Regions from separate parts of the Homo sapiens genome. Here region 1 is linked to region 2. Evidence: promoter capture Hi-C in 16 types of primary human blood cells and fetal thymus (Javierre and others, 2016). All regions are on one chromosome and are shown on one strand. Each heading gives the region's core, a stretch centred on a gene start or on the middle of the fragment in contact. The rest is flanking DNA. Distances are from core to core; before and after follow the strand shown.

Region 1 (5,776 bases), core at 837-3,336, 3.4 Mb before region 2:
AACAGGTTGCTAAAGGCCCTGGGATCCTATGATTCCAAAAAGTCCTGTATGTCGAGCAAAACTGTCATCGTCACCAAATTTAACCAAGGAAAGTGAGGCAGTGCTTTCTTCTTTTTTGTTCTCCATGTTAGCAAAATGAATAATACAGCCGCCTTCCCAACTGTACTTAATGAGAACACCACAAAGCTACAATGCCCAACTTGTTTAAGAATTTACTATGGCTTCGTACAGACTGGTTAAAATCGCTTTTTTATTTTTTCATTTATAATTGATATTTGGGAGTGATGCAATTATAGACAAATCAATATCATACATATTTAAAAACAACTCCAACAGTGAAATGTATTATCTAAAATGACTTCTAAAACTATTTCAAGAAAAAGAACTCTGTAAAAGCACATCTTTAAATAAAATGTATGTCTGTTTAAATAAGCTCCTTCCCGTAAGTCTCTTGAAGGTAAAATAATAAAATAATAACGTGGGGGTTATTAATACCAAAAACTTAACTAGTTTCCAACATAAGATAAATACTTGTCCAAGATGTGCCCTTATGGAAGAAGTTACCACCGTTTGGCTAAACCAGCATTATTCATTCACTGCTCATGTGGAAATGTTCCTCAAACAAAAGCATAAATGCGGCAATACTGACGGTTTTCTGCTGTGTATTTAGAGACATACACAAAAACCAAAGACTCTCAGCATTAATTATACAGCATGTCTTGATTATTACAATCTCAAAATCCCTTTTAACTCAAGTTCCACTTCATAAGAACCTTAGCCACGTCATTTACCTAACTCTTCCCATTTAGCTCTTCACACAGCTCAGCTCAGGAGTACCACCCAGACTGTGGGGGTGGGGTGTGCGGGACAGGTTTTTCAGGTCTCAGTGCTGGTTTATTACATTGTCTCTCTTTGTTCCCAGGAATTGGAAACAGACTCGTAGTCTTGTAGCTGAGAAGTTCCTAAAAACCTCAGCCGCTCCCCACCTCTCCCAACACAGCGAAGTCAGGACTTTTAAGACGAAGACCTGGGATTTCGCGCCCCGGGCAAAACGTCTCATCTGCGGACACGCGTGCCTTGTTCTGGCAGCACCCTGGGAATCCTTCCCGCCAAACGGGACAGGACGATCTTTTTGAAAAGTGGCTTGAAATCCTGCAATAAAAATCAAATCCTACCACTTTGGGTGCAAAGGGGGTGGGTGGGGTGGGAGGACATCACAGTCGTCTTTGCTGGTGTACCTACGCCAACCGTGGCGTTGCTCATTTACGCATTTCCAACTAAGTGCACAGTCCACTCCCTCTCGTACATCCGTAAAAAGGCAGCTCAAGGAAAAACAAACCTCAGATAAATTTTTGAATGTGGCCTCACTTTTAGAGTAGCATCAAACAAGGGGTCCAGCACTGAAAAACACATTTGCTCGAATTACCAAAAGCCCCCCTCCGCCTCCAATAAGAAACTCCGCAGCTAGTCTTTGAGTTACTTTCACTTAGATCTGAGGATTTTCATTAAAGGGAAAAGTGAGCAAGTGGCAGGATTTTTGCTAACTCGAGCCCTCAGCTTCCCCGGCTGCACGCTCGCCAGTCCCTCCCGCTAGCGCGCGCCCGCGCGCTCTCTAGCCAGCCCCACGTTACTTTGATTGACAGCCCAGCCCCGCCGCTCTCCTTCCCACCGACCTTCCCATCATCAGTGCCAATCTCCGCGAATCGCCGCTTCCCATTGGCTGGTTTTGGCGTCCCGCGGCTCCTCCAGGAACAGTTCCTCACCAAGCCCGGGAGGACGCGGCTGGCGGAGGAGGGGCCGGGATGGGAAGGGAGACCGAGGAGACGGCGGAGATGGAAGCGAGAGGAGGGGGGGAGGGAGAACGCCCCGTCCGGCGCTGCGCTGCCATACGCTCCGGGGAGGAGCGCGTCAGCGCCCCACGTTGGTTGCAGCGCACGCGATTGGCTGATGCGGGCCTTCTGCCCCCCCCCCACCCCCCAACCTCCCGGGCTCACGTCCCCCGCCGGCTCCGCGCTCGCGCCCCCCGCCCGAACGGGGCTGGGCGGGGCCGGCGCTGGTTAGCTCCGGAGTGTGAAACCGCGTGTTAATGTAAGCGGCGCGAGAGGCGCGGGCGGCGGCGGCGGTGGGAGCGGCGGCTGCAGAAGCAGCAGCAGCAGAAACAGCGGCGGGTACTCTGTGCCCCGCGTCCCGGAGGCAGCCGACTGCGCCACCCCACCCTCGCACGGCCGGGCGGGACCCGCGCCACCAGCCCGGACCTCCGTCGTCCCGCGGCGACCAAAACCCCCGCTGGCCCCACCGCTGTGACTACTCTGGACTCGCCCGCAGAGTTTGCCCGCCGGGGAGGGTGGCCGATTGGCGGAGCGCACTCCTGCTGTTTTCCCCACCATCTCGTGGATGTCGTCCCTCGGGTGGTGAGAGAACTTTGCAGTGGGCTGGAGCGCCCTTTGCGGAGAAGCACACGAAGGTGAAGGAAGGAAAGAAAGAAGACCGAGGAAGAAGGAGCTCGGAAGAAGGGTCCGGAGCGGCCGGTCCGGCCGTGCAGGGCGAGTGCGCCCGAGGCGCGGCGCCCTGATGCTCCCCGGGCTCGAGGAGCATTGGGCACTTGCGGGACTGCTCTCGGTGGAGTAGCCCCGTCGGGCCCGGAGGGTTTGTGCAACCGCGGAGAACACCGAGTGCTGGTCGCACGGGGCGTGCCGAGCCGCCTCCCGGCGCGCCCTCCGCACTTTCCCCGCCTCGTCATCCGTCGCTCCCCGGCCAGGAGCCTCCGCTGCGTCTTCAACCTCGCTCCCCTTTGCGTCCCGGGAGCCTGCGAGCACCCGGCCGAAGGCGCAGCCGAATCTTGCGGGAGTCGCCCCGAAAGCGTCGGGTTTGTGTGGGGTTAGCGGGGGCCGCCGCGCCACCTGCACCTCGCCCGCCGCCGCCTCGGGGAAAGCCCGAAGAGGAGGCGGACCAGGAGAAGAGCAAAGAAAAGCAGTCCGTCTGGATTTGTTTGCCCAGGACTGGCGCCGCGCACGCGGATCGCCGAGGGGAGTGCGGTCGGAGTCACCGCGCCCCCGCCTCCCCGCCCGGGCAGCTGAGGCCGGGGGTTGGAGCGCTGCCCCCGCGCACAGTCCCCGAGCGCCCGACGTCTCCGCGCAGGTTCTTGAAGCAGCTGGGCCTGGGGCGCCCACTAATGTGGCCCTGAGGGCCGGAGCCCGCACCGACGGGAGCGGGAGCCGGAGCAGCTGCGGGCGCCGAGTGGCCGGTGCGCCCGGCGGAGCGCGCGTGCGTGGCCAGCGCGCTCCCCGCTTCTGCTTGGCTTTCCGGCTTAATTTTCCTCGGCGGGATTAAAGTTGGAAATTGACCGGAGAATTGAGTTGCCGGGGAACAGAGCCCCGGCCGCCGCCAGAGCGATGTTCCCGCAGAGCCGGCACCCGGTGAGGCGCGGCTGGGTGGTGGTGGGGGGCCAGGATCGTTGGGGAGGCGCTTCTCCCGGGCGGTAGGGAGACTGGTGGCTTCTGAGGCCCGGCGGACCTTCTCGCCCTCAGCGGTGTAAGGCTGGGGAGGTCTGGGGCCCTCTCTTCCTGGGGTGGGGAGTGGGCCGAAACTCTTAATTTTCTCCCTCCCTTTGGGCTCCTTCCTACTTGACGTCTATACCGAGCGGACAGGGGCGCTGGGGAAGGCTGGGGTTTCTCTCCTGCAGCCATATCCCCTCTACCTTCCCCGAGTGGGGGCAGGGCGCCCCCCCCTTTGTTTCTCCTCTCGCCTATTTACATGTCAATGCGGCCCCGGTTCCGGTGCGTCTGGAGGTGGCCCCGGCGACTCTGGGAATGGGGAGCGTAAAGGAGTTGTTTTTCTCCTCTGGTCCCCGGGGTCATTATCGCCGCCGTGGGGGAAGGGGCGGCGACACCGACAATCTGGCCTGGTCTTCCCTGGCCGCCGGGGAGCCCCCTTCCCTTTGGCCTGGTGACCCGGGCGCACTTAGCGCAATCCGCCCTGGAGACTGGGAAGAGCTTCCGAGCCTCTTTAGAAGCCGGGGCCCGGGGAGGGTCCGCTTTCCCCCTCCCCATAGTGAAGGGCAAACTCGAGTTTGGGGCCTCGTTTTCAGCCACTTCTAACTTTATGTTTATGTCCCACCCGTTCTTGCCTTCTCTGACTTACTGCTTTATTCATCCGCCCGCATTCCCGTCCCTCGGTCCCCCTCGCTGGTCGCCCCCAGACGCCGCACCAGGCTGCAGGCCAGCCCTTCAAGTTCACTATCCCGGAGTCCCTGGACCGGATTAAAGAGGAATTCCAGTTCCTGCAGGCGCAGTATCACAGGTGCGTGTCCGGCCGCGCCATGCGAGTGGTCGCGGGCGTCCCGGTGCCCCTTGCACCCAGCCGGGTGGCGGCGGCGCCTGTACTTAGTTCTTGCGTCCAGGCGGTGGCGTGTGGAGTCTCAGTTAAGACCTGTCATTCAAGTTACCCCCTTTCCTGGTTCTTCCCGGGCCGCCTCTTCTCTTGTCTCCTCCTCCTCCCATTGTTTCCCTTTTGCCGGTTTGCACTGTTCCAGGGAGTCCTTTTTCATGTCTTTAGGAGTTGCATGAGAATCGTCAATATTTGCACTTCATGTATTTATTTTTCAGCAGACTGAGCTGAAACATTGGTTCAATCGATGTCTCAGTCCTGGAGTGTGGGTTCAGGGAAGCAAAGCCATGTTGAAATCGCTGTTTGCCATACTAGAAAATTGGGTTTTCTGAGGCAAAGTCCATTAAGGAAGGCTAGATGCTTATAACATTGCCCATCATTGGTGATGGTGAGGGAGGTGGGTATAATAGTATAAAGAAGAAAGCTCACCTGCTTTGGCGTCATTTCGGATTGGTTTGGGTAGGATGAGAGAGTGGAGTCACATTTATATCCATCTCAGCCTTAGTTTCTTCAAGTAATGAGACTTACCTTCAAAGGACTTATAAATTTTTGTAAAATACTTTGCCAATAGTGAACTTCCCAGAAAGGTTAGTTTCTTTCCCTTGTTCCTATGAAGTTTTACCTGATTCTAACTCAGAAATAACTGTATTGACATTTTTTGCTTTTGTCATGCTTGAGAAAAAGCACACAGATGAGGCGAAGTGGCTTGGGTGTGAATTTTCTTACTTTGTCAGGGGCTTTCTCATTATTGACCTTTTGTCTACTTGTAGATAATATCTCTGCAGCTTGAGGCATACTTGCACACACCGTGTTTACCCAGCAGGGAGAACTTCAACCCACTTTATTGCAGTAGCTACTTGACATATTTTGGCAGGGATTTAAAAACCAAAGGTTTTGAAAGGGACCAGCAATTGTAGGAGTAACTTAACAGATAGGATTTTCAAACCTAGAGACCGTTTGAGTTGGCAAAGATGGCACAGCCTATGCCTAAGAGTGAAGATTGTGCAAGGGCCGGATTTTGGTGGAGTACAGAGAAACAAACTGATGCAGGAAGGTAGGGAGCAGATGACCATGAGGAGGAATCAGTTAGAGGTTCTGACAGATTTTTTTCATTCTTGTCATCTAACCAGATAGGCACCAAGAAGAATGGTAGCTGAATGGACACCTTGTATTGTTCACATTATTCCTTTTCCCTATTAAATGCAAGGACAAAGCTTTTGGGTGTTTACCTAGATAGTTTATGGCTTTTCCAAATTGGTCTGTGTTTTTACTTGAAGTGCAAATATGTGAGGCAGATGTTAAAACAAGTGACATAATGTTTACATTAAGTTGCCTGTTTTGTTTTCCTAGCCTTAAATTGGAATGTGAGAAACTGGCAAGTGAAAAGACA
Region 2 (6,116 bases), core at 407-2,906:
CTAAATCAAGGAAATACATAAAAAGCAACATCTGCCTGCCCCCTCACCCTCCTGCCCCCCAGGTTACATGCAGTCCAAGGGCAAAAATCCTCCCAGAAAAATTAATAACAAATAATTGTATTACTGATGACAATTGCCATTACAATTATAGTAATAAATTAATAACGAAATACATAGGGAACAAACGTTGGGAACACTCCAAAACATGGGGGGTGCAGGAGGAGGCTACAGGAAACATCTCCACAGCTGGAGCAGGGAATCTCGCCTAAAATGAACTGTAACCACTGAGAAAAAATAAGCCCTGTCCTCTCAGCTACTGTGAGCGCTGCCCCTAGAAAAGTAAGAAGTCCTTTCCCCTTTAAAATTGGATTCTCTGTTCTTACCACAACACAGAGGAGGCTCTGTCCCAGGGAGATTTCTACTCTGCTCAACAATTGATAATTGTAAAATACTTGGCTATGCCTCATGCTGCTCCAACATATTATCAGCTCTATCCTGGTTAGAAAAATAAAAATCTAACGGCGGCGGCAGCCGCCTGACAATGGGCTCAAGGCACATCGGAGACTTTGCCTTCTTCACTGCGGGTGGGGCTGGGGACGGTGGGTTTGGCGGGGGAGGGGAGGAGCCGGGCTGGGGCCTGGGAAGGCAGAGAGTGAGTTCCACCAGCAAGATCTGATTGTGGCCCGGGAGAGAATTCAATCACTCGGTTTACTCCAGAACGAAATGAACAGGGAATTGGGTTAAGCAGCCCAAAGTCTACCAGAGTTAGAATACTCGAACGCCTTTAGGGGACAAGCAGGTTAAAAAAAGGAGGGGGGTGGGGAGAAAGGCTTTAGGAAAGGGTAGGTTCTATGGGGGACAAGGAGGGGAAAGCTGGACTGAAGGTTTTCAAATTTACATTTCTGAAAAGCAGTGTTCCTAAGTGCTGGCTAAAGCAAACACTGGTGTAAGGCGTAGGGGGGCACGCACACGCGGACCTTTAAGTTTGCAATCCCTTTCAGCTAACGTGATCCACTGCATATGCAAAACCTGTCATCGGTTCATTCCCGTTCATCACTCATTCACACTATGTCCATTCATGCATCCGCTCCACACTGCCCGGGCTCGCCGCACAGCTGCGCGAGGCGAAGGCAGAGATCAGAGCTTTTTCTTTTTCGCCCCGCCCCAGCCCCCGGACCGGCCCAGGAGATGGCACAGCCCGGGCGTCTGCAGGTGCGTGGCACCGGCGGGACAGCAGGCCCCGGCCAGCTGAGTCGTGCACTGCCTCGCACCAGCAGTCAGGGCCAGGGGCAGCTGCACGGGCACGCCTCGCCGAGCTTCCTCACCAACTGCATTCTTCCCGAAGCCCGCTTGCCGGAGCTGCTGATCCCGCTGTGCACGCTGATGCAAAGCGCCTAGGGGACTCAAGGCAGGGAGCGGGAATCCGACTGCCACACGCAGGGATGCAAACCCACCCGCGTGCGTGCTCCCGCCTGAACCTCACTCCCGGCGCCCGCTCGCGGGGACTTACTGAGTGCGGCAGCTTGGCGGGACCAGGCCCAAAGTTGACCACCTGCCTGGGGGCGTCCATGGTGCGGCGGCCAGGGCGGTGAGTCAGCCAAGGAGGACCGAACGCGTGAACGGCTGGCGTTCCTGGCCGCTGCGGTGAGAGTCTGCAGCCGGCCCCGAACCCCCGCCTTGTTCCTGCGCCGAGTCGGCGCCCCATTGGCCCGTGCTGTCGCAGGCCCTGCGCTAATTGGTTCGCGCGAAGGAGCTCACATCCCCATTGGTCGCGCTTCTGAGCCGAGTCGAAGCAGTTGCTCCTCCTCGCGTTTACTGTTTCAACCCCCATTTTTGATCAATGCAAGGAGCGCGCGAGATTGCGCCAGCCAGCCGAGCCGGCTCGGCTGCGCGCCCGCCCGAGGATTGTGGGCGGCGGGAAGAGGCTGCCCCTGCCAACCTGCCTTCGCCCCTTGAGCCCGCAATCTGGCCGGTTCCAGTCCTCCAACCCCAGAGGACCTCAGCTCCTCTCTCTTGGCTGAAAGGGCAGTTGCCGAGCAGATTTGTAGCCCCCATCCACCCACCTCTCCACCACCAGCCCCCAGTTTGGGCTGTGATGTATTTGTTCCAGAACCACCAGTCACTAATCTACCAAACTTTTCTAAGCACCCCCCACGGGCGTCAGATACCCCAGTGGAGAGAGAGGACCCCCCCAAGGTTGGAAGCGCAGGATGAAGAAGGGCCGGGGGTGGGTGGATACGGTTCTTTGTATTTGCACGTGGGTCCTGAGTTCCTGCAGGATTAAAGAACGGAGGTGGCCAAGGACGCAGGGAGGAGCGATAGCCTGGGAAGCGTGGATGCCCGCCAGGCAAGTCCTTTAAAGTCGCTGATTCTCCATTTCCTCCTTTGGGAAACGAGTGAGCTGGAAACCTGCGACAGCTCTCAGGTTGCGCCCGCGCTGACAAGCTGTGAGTTTAGAAACGTGAGGAGATATTAACAAGAACGCGATACCCATAGGGCGCTGCAGCCCAAACCAGAAGAAGGTGGCCCCTAGCCAGGCCAGGCGCAGGGCCAGAGCTGCTCAAACTTTTCCACAGAAGTGTCCTTCTCAAAAGAACTCCAGTGGAGACCCGCATGGGGTTCTGAAACAGAATACCCTCCCCCTACCCTGCAAGAAAGAAGTTCCTTTGAAGTCTGGAATTTCATCATTTTTAAACTGTGAATTTTGCATTCTCTACCATAATTTAACCTAGTTTCTTTTAATGTAAAAATATTTTCCCTGTCTGAGTAAAATTGATGCGCCAGGAATATATACAGTCCAACTGCCCCGTTTAGAGAAGGCTTGTAACTGGACAGGACTTTGGCTTTTGTTTGCTTTTCCTAATGAGAATGTGGGCGGTATGGGGCTGAGAGCAGAGGCACTGCTCTGGATCTGGGAATTGGAGGACAAAGTTTCCAGAAAAAGGCAAAATGAACAAGGCCCCTGCGTTCCTCAGCAACTTCATTAAGAAAACCGCGACATTCAAGACAGAATAAATCTCAGCCCAGAAACTCAGGCATGCAAGAAGCATCACATATCCATTATTTTACGTAAATAACTCAGTTATTATATATTAGTAGCTGCCCCTAGCAGCTTATCTACTGGAGACTAAGGGAGTCAGCCTTCATCCTTCCTGGAGTTAGTTCCTAACACCAGGGCTATACACAGTCCCATGTAGTGGGTTGGGAGAAGGGACAGCACATCCATTTGGTCCTCTGTTCCCAAAAGATATGGCTGAGTTGTTTCCACTGCCCAAGCTGATGTGGCTGCTTGGGTTGATGAGCAACCTACTACTTCTGTATCCCACTAGGGGCACAGGAATTTGGGGTGGGGTGGCGGTGGCTATTGTCTCATCTGCTAAGACATCCCCTGCAGCCATTCCTCCCGGGGGTCCTGCAGTTTCCAAGATGGTATTTCAGGGACACAAGTCACACATACAGTCAGCCTCAGGACCCACTGACCTCTGTTTGTCTTCCTCCCGCCCCTGGGCAATCTCCTTTTCAGTCTAGAGAAAATCTGTCTTTTCCATGTTTCTTCCTCACACTGTGCCCACAAACACCTTAAACCAGAGCCACAAACTCAAATGCCTCCAGGGGCCACTCAGGGATATGAAACAAGTAGTGGGAACTGTGGCAAATTGAGTTCACCTGTCCATTTGTGGCACAGGTGCACGCGGCCACTGCACATTTATGATTCCCCCATCCATGGGATAGGGTTGATGGCAGGAAGTGGCTGCTCAAACCGGCTTCATGTTTCCCAGCTCCCTTTGCATCTAGGTGAGCCACATGACTGGGTCCCCCCAGTGGAATGTGGGCCAAGTGGATGTGTGTCACTTTCAGGCCAGGGTGGTTGAGAAATGGGTGTGCTTCTCCACTTCCTTTTTCCCATTCCACAGGCTGAAAACAAAAAACTCCCTGGCCCCTAAGGACAGTGGAGACACAGCAAAGAGGGAGCCCCAGGTCCCTGAATCACCTGCACCAGACTTGTCATATGTAAGTGAGAAATCAGCTTCTTTTGTGCTATGTCACTGAAATATGAGAGGCGATTTGTTACAGCAGCTCACATTATCCTGATTATTATGCCATCCTAAATGCAACAGCTGAAGTTCAGATCCAGCTGGTTGTTGCCAAGCAGGCAAATGAAGTTGCTTGAGCTGTCTTCACGTTTTGAAAGAAAACCCAGGAACCCAGATTTTTATGTGACATCTCATTTTTAAACATCTACAAATGTAAATTTCAGCAAAACACTGTACAGATCAATATTTTGAGGGGCAAACTCCAGCTTATCTGAGGCCTTATTGAGCCTACAGGTAACAAGCTCTCTGAAGGACTGTTTATAGTGTTCTGCCCCCAAATTTCCTCCAGTTCAACAAGGAACACCCTCAGCTAAGTGCTTGAATAAAGCAGCAGCAAAGGAGGAAACATAATTTAATCTCAAAATATTATTTTGTCCTTCTTGCCTATTTTGCACTGATCTATAAAGACAGTCCAGGCCGGGCACGGTGGCTCACGCCTGTAATCCTAGCACTTTGGGAGGCGGAAGCAGGCAGATCATGAGGTCAGGAGATCGAGACCATCCTGGCTAACACGGTGAAACCCTGTCTCTACTAAAAATACAAAAAATTAGCTGGGCATGGTGGCGGGCGCCTGTAGTCCCAGCTACTTGGGAGGCTGAGGCAGGAGAATGGCATGAACCCGGGAGGCGGAGCTTGCAGTGAGCCAAGATCGCGCCACTGCACTCTAGCCTGGGAGACAGAGTGAGACTCCATCTCAAAAAAAAAAAAAAAAAAAAAGACAGTCCAGAGGAACCCCTGCATGTGGGAGGGATCCTTCCCTCTTAGTAGATTCTCATTTAGCAAGTACAAAGAAGCTTCTTTATGAAATACATATTTCGTAAAAAGGCAGAAATTCAATTTTCACAAGTATTATTCATTGAGTACTTCTATATGTGAAAGATGCTGGGCTCTGCTGCGATTGCCAATCAGACCCAGCCATCCTGTTTAGAGAGCAGTGAGAAGAGAAGTAGGCAACATGAGCAGGGGAGAAAATCTATTTGGAATGAGACAAGATTATTTCTGCTGCCCTTTTTGTAGTTGGAGCTAAAGATCCTTTTCCCTTATCATTATTCCCAGAGAACGTGAGGAAGGGAAGCTGGGCCCAGTGGCTGACGCCTATAATCCCAGCACTTTGGGAAGCCTAGGCAGGCGGATCACTTGAGGTCCGAAGTTTGAGACCAGTCTGGCCAACATGGTGAAACCCCGTCTCTACTAAAAAAAAAAAAAAAAAAAATTAAAAATTAGCCTTGCATGGTGTCCCGCACCCGTAGTCCCAGCTACTCAGGAGGCTGAGGGAGGAGAATTGCTGCCCCCAGCTCCAGCAACCACCATTCTACTTCCTGTCTCTATGAATCCGACCACTCTAAGTACCTCTTGTATGCGGAGTCATACAGAATGATTGATCCCGGGAGGCGGAGGTTGCAATAAGCCAAGATTGCGCCACTGGACTCCAGCCTGGGTGACAGAGTGAGACCCTGTCTCAAAAACAAACAACAATTTTAAAAAGTGGGAGAGAGGCAGTAATCATAGTTTATGTAGCAAAAAGAAACCAAAAGTCAAAGTCCTATTACTTTCTTTATTCTGACCCCAACAGATAGGAAAAGATATCCATCCTACTCTCTTTACCTCAGTTTATTTCCTTGCCTACTTTGCTTCATTTTTTTATTGACAAAATATGCATAACATAAAATTTACCATTTTCAAGTGTACAGTTAAGTGGCAGTAAGTACAGTCATATTTTTGTGCAATCGTCACCACCATCCACCACCAGAACCTTTTCATCTTCCCACACTGAAACTCTGTACACATTGAACTATAACTCCCGCCACTCCCCAGCTCCAGCAACTACCCTTCTACTTCCTGTCTGTATGAATTTGACCACTCTAAGTACCACCTGTAAGTGGAATCATAAGAATTTGCCCTTTTGTGTGACTGGTTTATTTCACTTAGCATAATGTCTTCAAGGTATACCCATTGTGCTTCATTTTTTTTTTGTAGAGATAGGGGTCTCGCTATGTTGCCCAGGATGGTCTCGAATTCCTG

The links. The method cuts DNA at HindIII sites, captures the fragments that hold promoters and counts their contacts. A CHiCAGO score of 5 or more calls a contact.
Region 1: the fragment with the promoter of TLE1 here is called in contact with the fragment with the promoter of PSAT1 in region 2 in 1 of 17 cell types (fetal thymus); the score reaches 6.2 in fetal thymus.

The regions. Positions count from the first base shown.
Region 1 is chr9:81,685,857-81,691,632 of GRCh38, reverse strand. It overlaps TLE1 (TLE family member 1, transcriptional corepressor), which reads left to right and starts at 2,086. Exons shown (of 20, transcript NM_005077.5): 1 at 2,086-3,416; 2 at 4,199-4,299; 3 at 5,737-5,776. The coding sequence starts at 3,393. It overlaps TLE1-DT (TLE1 divergent transcript), which reads right to left and starts at 1,920. Exons shown (of 4, transcript NR_109772.1): 1 at 1,674-1,920. RefSeq lists silencers at 1,539-1,688, 1,839-2,188 and an enhancer at 2,061-2,775. The HindIII fragment of the contact is 8,493 bases long and covers 1-5,602 here.
Region 2 is chr9:78,292,665-78,298,780 of GRCh38, reverse strand. It overlaps PSAT1 (phosphoserine aminotransferase 1), which reads right to left and starts at 1,656. Exons shown (of 9, transcript NM_058179.4): 1 at 1,511-1,656. The coding sequence starts at 1,570. RefSeq lists a silencer at 1,051-1,290 and enhancers at 1,243-1,826, 1,827-2,410, 2,301-2,570. The HindIII fragment of the contact is 4,911 bases long and covers 1-4,890 here.